2 separate regions of the Homo sapiens genome follow, and region 1 is linked to region 2. Evidence: promoter capture Hi-C in 16 types of primary human blood cells and fetal thymus (Javierre and others, 2016). All regions are on one chromosome and are shown on one strand. Each heading gives the region's core, a stretch centred on a gene start or on the middle of the fragment in contact. The rest is flanking DNA. Distances are from core to core; before and after follow the strand shown.

What was found. The method cuts DNA at HindIII sites, captures the fragments that hold promoters and counts their contacts. A CHiCAGO score of 5 or more calls a contact.
Region 1: a fragment that was not itself captured here is called in contact with the fragment with the promoter of MPP4 in region 2 in 1 of 17 cell types (endothelial precursors); the score reaches 7.0 in endothelial precursors.

What each region holds. Positions count from the first base shown.
Region 1 is chr2:201,453,083-201,457,445 of GRCh38, forward strand. STRADB (STE20 related adaptor beta) reads left to right here. Exons shown (of 12, transcript NM_018571.6): 2 at 1,664-1,770. The coding sequence starts at 1,759. Among named protein-coding and RNA genes, the nearest start is that of STRADB, 3.5 kb to the left of the region's middle. The HindIII fragment of the contact is 3,133 bases long and covers 1-2,921 here.
Region 2 is chr2:201,696,104-201,700,051 of GRCh38, forward strand. It overlaps MPP4 (MAGUK p55 scaffold protein 4), which reads right to left and starts at 2,541. Exons shown (of 22, transcript NM_033066.3): 1 at 2,484-2,541. RefSeq lists enhancers at 3,171-3,672, 3,673-3,948. The HindIII fragment of the contact is 2,266 bases long and covers 2,526-3,948 here.

The DNA of each region.
Region 1 (4,363 bases), core at 105-2,604, 240 kb before region 2:
ATGTCTTGTAAAATTATCTCTTAATAGTCTGGTGTATCTAAGGCAAAAATCTCTGAGATTAAACCACCCCATAGGGACAACCCTTTTATTACTAACAATTCTTACCAGATTGTGTCTGTTTCTTCTGAGCTTTTCTGAAAAAGAGAAAAAAATAGACAACGTAATGGAGTTTCACATTATTAAGACAAAATCAGTAACAACTTGCTGACATTGAGTGAAAAAAGCAGGATACAAAATCATGATAACCAGAAAATTTGGTTAATCATGACATCCATAACCCTTCTGCTTGTGGGAAGGTCAGCTACAAGTGGCCAGGGTCTTGTCTGCCCTGATTACCAGCGGGTGTCCACAGTGCCTGACCCATGGTAACCACTCATTAAACACTTGTGTAATGATTACTTGGCTGTTAACAGATTAACAGTGTATTGACTATGATGTGTAGTTTCTTCATTTACTTGGATATCTCCTTAGAATAGATCACTCCGGGGAATTTTACTGGGTCAAAAAGTATGAATATTTTCATGGTTATTGAAACATTTGACAACCTGCTTTCCAAATAAACCTTATAGTTTTGTACTGCCATCAGTACATTTGAGTGTACCTTTCAAAGCATAGTTCAAGCTGATACAGTGTTTGCTAATTAGGGGCACTTTGAGATGTAACTCATTTGATTTCATTCACCCTGGAAGGTTGGCAGGGCAGGCATTGCTTTCCTCCTTTTGCAGCACAGCAAACTCCAGTGCTTTAAATTGACGGTAATGAATGGTAGGTGGCTAAATGATCACAGCCTTTCAGGTCCGTCTTCCTCCCAATCTCTACCTTTGGTTCATAGTGAACATCCTGAATAAATTCACCTCTTTCTTTAGCAATAAAATTGGATATTGCTTTATGGTTTTTATGGTTTACAAAATCTTCCCTTTCTCATCCTGCTCACATATTTGTAGATGGGTTCATCAAATTTGGGGAGTTGAAATAATGAAGCACAATTTAGATGAAAGAGATGATGTTGGTTAGATGTAAAGGGATGCTCTGAACCCACAAACTTACAAGATTGCCACCCTTTCTATTAGTAAAGGTCTGGAAACCGTGGATGGTGCTTTTGTATCTCCTTGAATTAATTTCCTAGTCTGTTATTCTGATTCTTTCCCATATTTGCTGGTCAGGGACCCCAAATGATTTAATACGTAATTAATCCAATAAGAAAGGGCTTTGGAAAGTCTCAAAGTTTAGTTGTAATATGTGGAACCATTGAAAATTCTTGGGGTTTATTGTAAGTGACACTGTTTATATCAAAAGTGGGCCAAAAATTGGTTTTCTACATTGCTTTCAAATTTGCTCAGCGTTCTTTAAAAAACAAACAAAAAACAGTATAGAAAAGATAGGGAAGGAGAAATGCAAACATATTGAGGCTTTGGAAATATTCAGGACTTCTTTTTGTTTTCACTCTGCTTCTTGGTTGTGATGTCAGATCACAAATAATGTTCAGTAAAAAATAAATGCTCTTTAAAGATACTTTTCAGGAATGTCTCCTTGTGTCAAGGAGTAGCTGCCTAAATATTGGGTATCAGGGAATAGCTGCCTAAATATTGGATGGGTTTAAGGCAACTGGTTCTTTAAGGAACTTTTATGTGAATCTAAATTATTTTGCTTTTGTTTTTTATAGTAGGATATATCTGCATCTTGAAAGGAAGATAAAACAAAAGCCTTCTTTGGAATAGATGGATTTTTGTCACTTTCTGTGTGAACTAAAGTGATTCAATGTCTCTTTTGGTAAGTTTTTGTAAATATAGATCTGATTTTGTTCTGTCAGAGTAGTTGGATGTTAATGCCAAGCCATAATAAAAGGCATATTCTGATGGGATATTCTTATGCTCTGAGATATTGTTTTGACCTGATTGACTTCTGGACTTGAGAAATGAATTACATTCTCATTGAGTTTTTCTTTCTTTCATAAAGAACTTCTCGTATACTTCAATATGTTCATTATTCTAATCTTTTGTCCCATATCTACTTTTTCTCATAGGTGTTATACTTTGATATGCCACCCACACCAGTTAGCTATGCCTTATCTTTTAAATCTTTCAGAAATTCCTTTTACAAATTTCCATCTGACCAAAAGCAAGCCAAACAGTATTAAAAATAACCCCTTTGACTTAACCGAAATAAAATCATTTGGATCAATGTATATATGAGGTATAGCTGCCAACTGGTTTTCTATTTATATTTAGATCCGTGGTATCTACTTTAGATTAAGTAGCTTGAGGACTTTCATCCTGTTTTATACATAATAATAATATTTGAATAGGGAATACTTATATTAAAATGTGGTTTTTAAAAAAGTAATGAGTAGACCACGTGTAGTGGCTCACACCTGTAATCCCAGCATTTTTAGGGGCCAAGGCTAGAGAATCAGTTGAACCCAGGAGTTCAACACCAGCCTAGGCAACATAGTGAGATCCTGTCTGTATAAAATATTAGCCAGACGTAGTGTCATATGCCTGTAGTCTCAGCTACTCAGAGGGTTAAGGTGGGAGGATCCCTTGAACAAGGGATCAAGGCTGCAGTGAACTGTGATCATGCCATTGCATTCCAGCCTGGGTGATAGAGGGAGATCCTGTCTCAAAAAAAAAAAAGGATGAGTATATTTGTATGATGATTTATAGTTTACAAATACTTTCATATATTTCTTTCATAGTTTCAAATTGTGTAAGTTTAGCAGGGCAGGTGGCATTATCCTCATTTTCAGTTTGTCCAAGATTGCAAAAAGTTGGAGCCAGACTCATACCTGCCAATCTATTCTATCAATTACCAAGGCTGAGAGGCAGAACTATGAAGTTAGAAGACTGGATTGTTAGTAATATGGAAAATACATAACACAGTTACTTACATGTTTAAAGTAAAGCATTACCACTTGAAAGAGAAGCTTTATATATCTGGAAAATACACGGAGGTGAAATGTTTTATTCTGTAAAGGAGGGATCAGCAAGCTTTTCTGTAAAGGCCAGATAGTATTTACAGACCCTTTGGTCTTTGTTACAGCTACTTTTCTGCTGAAATACTAGCATGAAAGCAGCCATAGGCAATATATAAATGAATGAATGAATGTATCTGTGTTCCAGTAAAACTTTACTCACAAAAACAGGTGGTGGGTCAGATTTGGCTCATGGACCATAGTTTGCCGACCCTTACTCTAAAGGATTACTTAAGATTTACAATTTTATATCAATTTTTAAGTTGGAAAAGATGTGAAAGGGCATTCAGTCTATTCCCTTCATTTGATAGGCGAGAATTGTGAGATTCAAAGGGCTGTGTGTTGCCCAGGGCTTTCAAATTTTGGAAAAAGAATATCTTAGCCTATTATTCCATAATTATGGGTTTTGTGAAAAATAATAGAATGTGATAATGGGTGATTTATATCGTTAATGATTGTAACTTTAAATCACATTTTTCTGCAATGGTGAAATATTTTAAATTCTTTGAATCGAAATATTTACTTTTTTTCCTTAAACGAGAAATTTGTGCAGTTGGGATAAAGTTGATACTTTTACTTAAGGATTCCTCCCCATTCAAGTTTTACCCTCTATTTGAGAACTAAGAAATGCTGTTTTCAAAGGAGCAGCATATGTAAAAATATCTTCTTTCAGTTTCTTTGTAAGGTCTAACTACTTTTTACTTGGCTATTATGATAATGGATAAAGAAATTATATTCAAAAATATTCAAAGGGAAAAGGTATGTGGGGTGAAGTTCAGAGGAAACCAGGCACAAGCTTTCAAGAATCTTTTCTCAGTGGAGTTCCATAGTATATGCACAGTTCCCCCAGAGTTGTGACATGTGAAATGTTGTCTACTAGGGAAGCTCATTAGAGACTTGGACTTAAGGTTTTTATTGGGGACTTGTCACGTAGGCGTGCTCTGCTAGCAAGTAACAAAATTCCAGTCTCCCAGAAAAAAAGCCAGGTGTTCAGCATAAACTGTATTATTTGCACAAACAGTTTAGACACAGTGAGCGATTCTTATGAAGGGAACCTCTGCAAAATCCCAGTTCCCAGATACTAGCCAAGGGTCAACCTTATAAGCAGCTATTTTCTAAGAATAGCAGTTTTAGGCCTGCTGTTAATTCTTCTTTTGCACAGTGGTATTAATGGTCGTTGTGAAAAATTCAAGCTAAATGTTGTAAAAATATATAAATACCAAACAATATATAAATGTCCTGCCCAGCTGGTGGATATTTTCAATATGAACAACAGTAATAAGTATCTTCAAAAACTGTTTTATTATAAATGTTATTCACCCTAGGAAGCCATTAGAAACTCTGCAGAGGAATCAGTTGTACAGCTATCTTGACATTGTTAGCGTCTATTCT
Region 2 (3,948 bases), core at 1,291-3,790:
AAAGCTGTTACAGCATTTTAGACAACTTTCCCCTACACATTCCTTTCCAAACACCCTGAAGTCTTCCGGTTTGCTAGGTTCTACCAAAGCTTGACATCGTTATGCTTTTGACTTGCCCTCCATCACCTACCTTGCCCACTTGTAATTGAGTCAGATTAAACAATGCGTTTTCCTGTGTTCTGTGTTGTTTTTGACTCTATTGAATCATTTAGCATCACAGCTGCATATCTGACTCATCTTCCTCCCTGGAGGGGAGCACTTCCAGGGTAGAAAATTGAAAAGGGAGATGGAGTGCCTGCTAGAGAGCAGACAAAAGTCAGAGCAGACAGATGAGGCTGACACTCAGGCTGACTCTTAAAATTGGTTCCCCTCCAGCACCTCACAAATCACACGTCCTTGGCAAAGCAGTGCAGATTAAACAAGCCAACTGTTGTTTGCACGTCATGAGGTGGACCACATTTCTGCCATATTTAATGCCCGAATGACTGTGCTGAGCTAGGCCTACCCATTCAGCAGTTGGGGGCACACACTAGAGACTACATATTTCTGAGATGAATTTATTGTGAGGGAGCTTTACAGATAGACTGTGCTTCACAGATAGGCGGTGGTTTCTTGAGTGAATGCAATGGTTAAAATAGCTTCTAATAAATCTAGAGCCAACTTCAGGGCTACCTAGATAACTAATTCATACATTCTAAAAGGCTCGTTTTGACCCAAAGTTTCTCAGCCATAGAGGCAAAAACAATAATTACAGTAATCTACAACTTATGCAAATTCTAAAAACTGTGCTTGGCTCCTCATCTTCAGGTTCCTATGACAAATTTATGGTGGACTGAATGTTGTGTCCCCACCCCCAATTCAGATGTTGAAGCCCTAATCCCCATTGTTGATGGCATTTGAAGATGGGGCCTTTGGGAGGTAACTGGGTTAAGGTCATGAGGTAGAGGCCTCAAGATGTCATTAGCGTCTGGGTAAGAGCCATCAGAGTTCATGTGTTCTCTCTCTCCCTGCCAGATGATGGCACAGTGAAAACGCGGCCATCTGAAAGCCAGGAAGAGAACCCTCGCAAGAACCCAACCATGCTGGCATCCCAATCTTCAACTTCCAGCCTCCAGAACTGTATGAGAAAATACATTTCTGTTGTTTAAGCCACTGTCTATGGTACTTTGTTATGACAGCCAAAGCTAAGACAAAACTCATAGAAAAAAACTTCCAGAAAATGATTTTCCCTCCCTCCAGGTAGCTAAGAAAACAGTTGCAACTTCTTGCCCTCATAGCACTTCTCATTTTCCCAGTTCTTGTATCCACTGGCTTGCTCAGTGTCTGTCTCCCGCAGGTGTCATGTCTGCAGAGGGCCTGGGGAGCAGAGATGTTGCTTATCTTGTTCATGCTGCAGCTTCACCTGCAACAGTGCTTGGGCCATAGCAAGCACTTGGTATGTTCAGTTGTTGTTGGGAAGGGGTAGAACAAGGAGAGGCCAAGATCCAGAAGTAAAAGGCTGATACCTCCCTCAAGGCAGTAGCCAGCAGCTGGGACTTCAATCCTAATGGGGGAGGCAGCTGAACTCCAGAGGCCTGTGCCCTCCCTTCCTTTCCTCCCTGGCCTGGTATCCTGACTTAAACCTCTTTCCCTATCAAACTTTAAAACTGGGGGCAGAAGCGGATCTTAGAGATAATCAAATGCAAAACCTTTGTTTTACAGATAAGGAATCTGACATTCAAGGAGGTATTCAGTAGAGTTAACATGTAGTAAAATCGAGTTTTCCTCTTTTGTTTCCTTAGTCCTGAAAGATGCTGATGCCTGGCATGATGCCTGGCAAAAGACTTACCTTCCTTTCCATGACTTCTGTACCAAATTTGTCAGTTGAAGCTTATCTATTTCTGCTATCTTGAGAGTGAGAATTCTTGATTGAGACTGCAAATAAGTAAGCACCCACCACATGCAATTCCGGACTGAGTACACAGAAAGGATAGCCAGTTCTTGACTCAGAAGATGCATTAGTGTGACTGATGCCTAAGGAATTTGTCCTAAATCTTGTTTTAAAAGTATTTCCATTAGCTTTTTAAAACGTACTATTAAATGCCACAACCCCCTACCCTTACTATGCTTGTTTTTCAAAATAGTGCTTTTTACTAGACAAACCCTAAAAAAGCACTTGGAAACTTAATGATGAGAAATGGCCCTTACAAAAATAGCTGGCTTCCTCTGGGTCCAAATGCTGTTGATTAGGACCAGGGCAAATGCCCATTGTACTCAATCTTCCTGACAACTCATTATTCCATACTGAAGAAATGGCTTCTCGAAGCAAAACCTGCTCTTTCAAGATCATAAAATTCCCCATATCATTTGAGTTAAAATGAAACTAAGCCATTTGAGTTAGATTACCCAGATTTATATCTTTAGCTATTAAAAACTGACAGGCAAGCTAGGCAGTTATGGATACATCTTCTGGTAACTGAGGATTATTTGCCAAGGTCTCTTACCTGCAAGACTGTAAACATGCATGTTGCTCCTATCCAGACAAAAGCTTTAGTAGGATACTAGTGGCCTGTTAGCTGCCAAAGTCACCTCACTGCTCCCGATAAAATCTCTGCACATCCTCTTTGATGTAATCCACAGATGCCTAACCCAGCCTAACAACTAAATTACTCACAAGCCTTTCCTGCCACAAATCTTCTTAAGTATTCCTTGAAGTCTAATTTGTATCATTTTCAAACCTACATTCTAGTATTTTCTCTCAAATTGCCAACACATAGTTAACGGCAGAAAAACATAGTATTTTTGTTGATTAGTTCAAGATGACAGACATTCCACAACAGAAGATAGCATTTTTAATGAAAGAAAAAAATGTGGCAGGACCGGAAATAAGCCAATAACCTACTAACCTTATTAAATCTCTCATGTTATGGTGAGAAAACAACTGAAGACTGTTCAGCTAATAATAGAAACCCATCAAAAACAGTACCTTCTGGTCAATCCCCTCCCAAGCCACTGTTCTGAACCTAACAAATAGTGCTTTCTGTCTCAGATAGGAGCTACTTCTTTATCTGAAAACTTAATACTGCAGGGAGTGCTCAGTGGGGAGAGCATTTGGAAGGGGATATTGCAGAAAGGAGAGGAAGGTATTGCTGACAGCAAGGCAAAAGGTAGAGACCAAATGGCAATTATCAGAGGGTCCTCAGCCCTTCTACCCATATTAATCACATGGCTTTCCTTATCTCTCCATCATAGATGAAAACACAAGTTGGGAATGTGATACATTTGTGTTTTGAGTACAGCATATTTTGTGAAAAGCACTTGATTTCAATAAGATTTTCATTTTTAACTCACTTTTAAGAACTTTCAATACATAACCAGCTATGAAATGACATCTCTGGCAGCTGTAGTAGCAAAAAGCACTGGACTTCTAGGGAAGTAGGGAGTAGGGAAGTTCTAGGCTGGAGTCCCAGCTCTGGCAGTGAGCAAATCTTGGTCACTGCTTGTCTGAAAAATGGGGGGAAATGGGGATAACACCTGCATCCTTGGGCTGCTGTAAGCATTCATTACGCATGTGAATGACCATTGTAAACTGCTGCAGGAGTGCCAAGGACTTCTATTTACAAACATTGGCCTGGAGATTTAGGGTTTTTCTTCCAATACACTTCAAAATTTATAACTTTAATATGCTATCTGAAAAGCATATAGTAGGAAGAATCCAAAGTAACTGAACAGTTTCATTCAAGACTCCAGTAAAAGGACGAATTGTAACATGGCTTTTCTTAGAACAGAGACAGCCTATCATCATTGGAAATCTTCTCAATGGGTCAATTTGTCTCAAAGTTTTTGTTTGTCCATTTCCACATATTATCCACCCCCGCCCAGAGTCAGAAATTCTGTAAATTTGGCTTTACCAGGCAAATGTGGTTATTTATGTGTTTGTTCAGAAACTCAAAACAATCTCCAATGTAA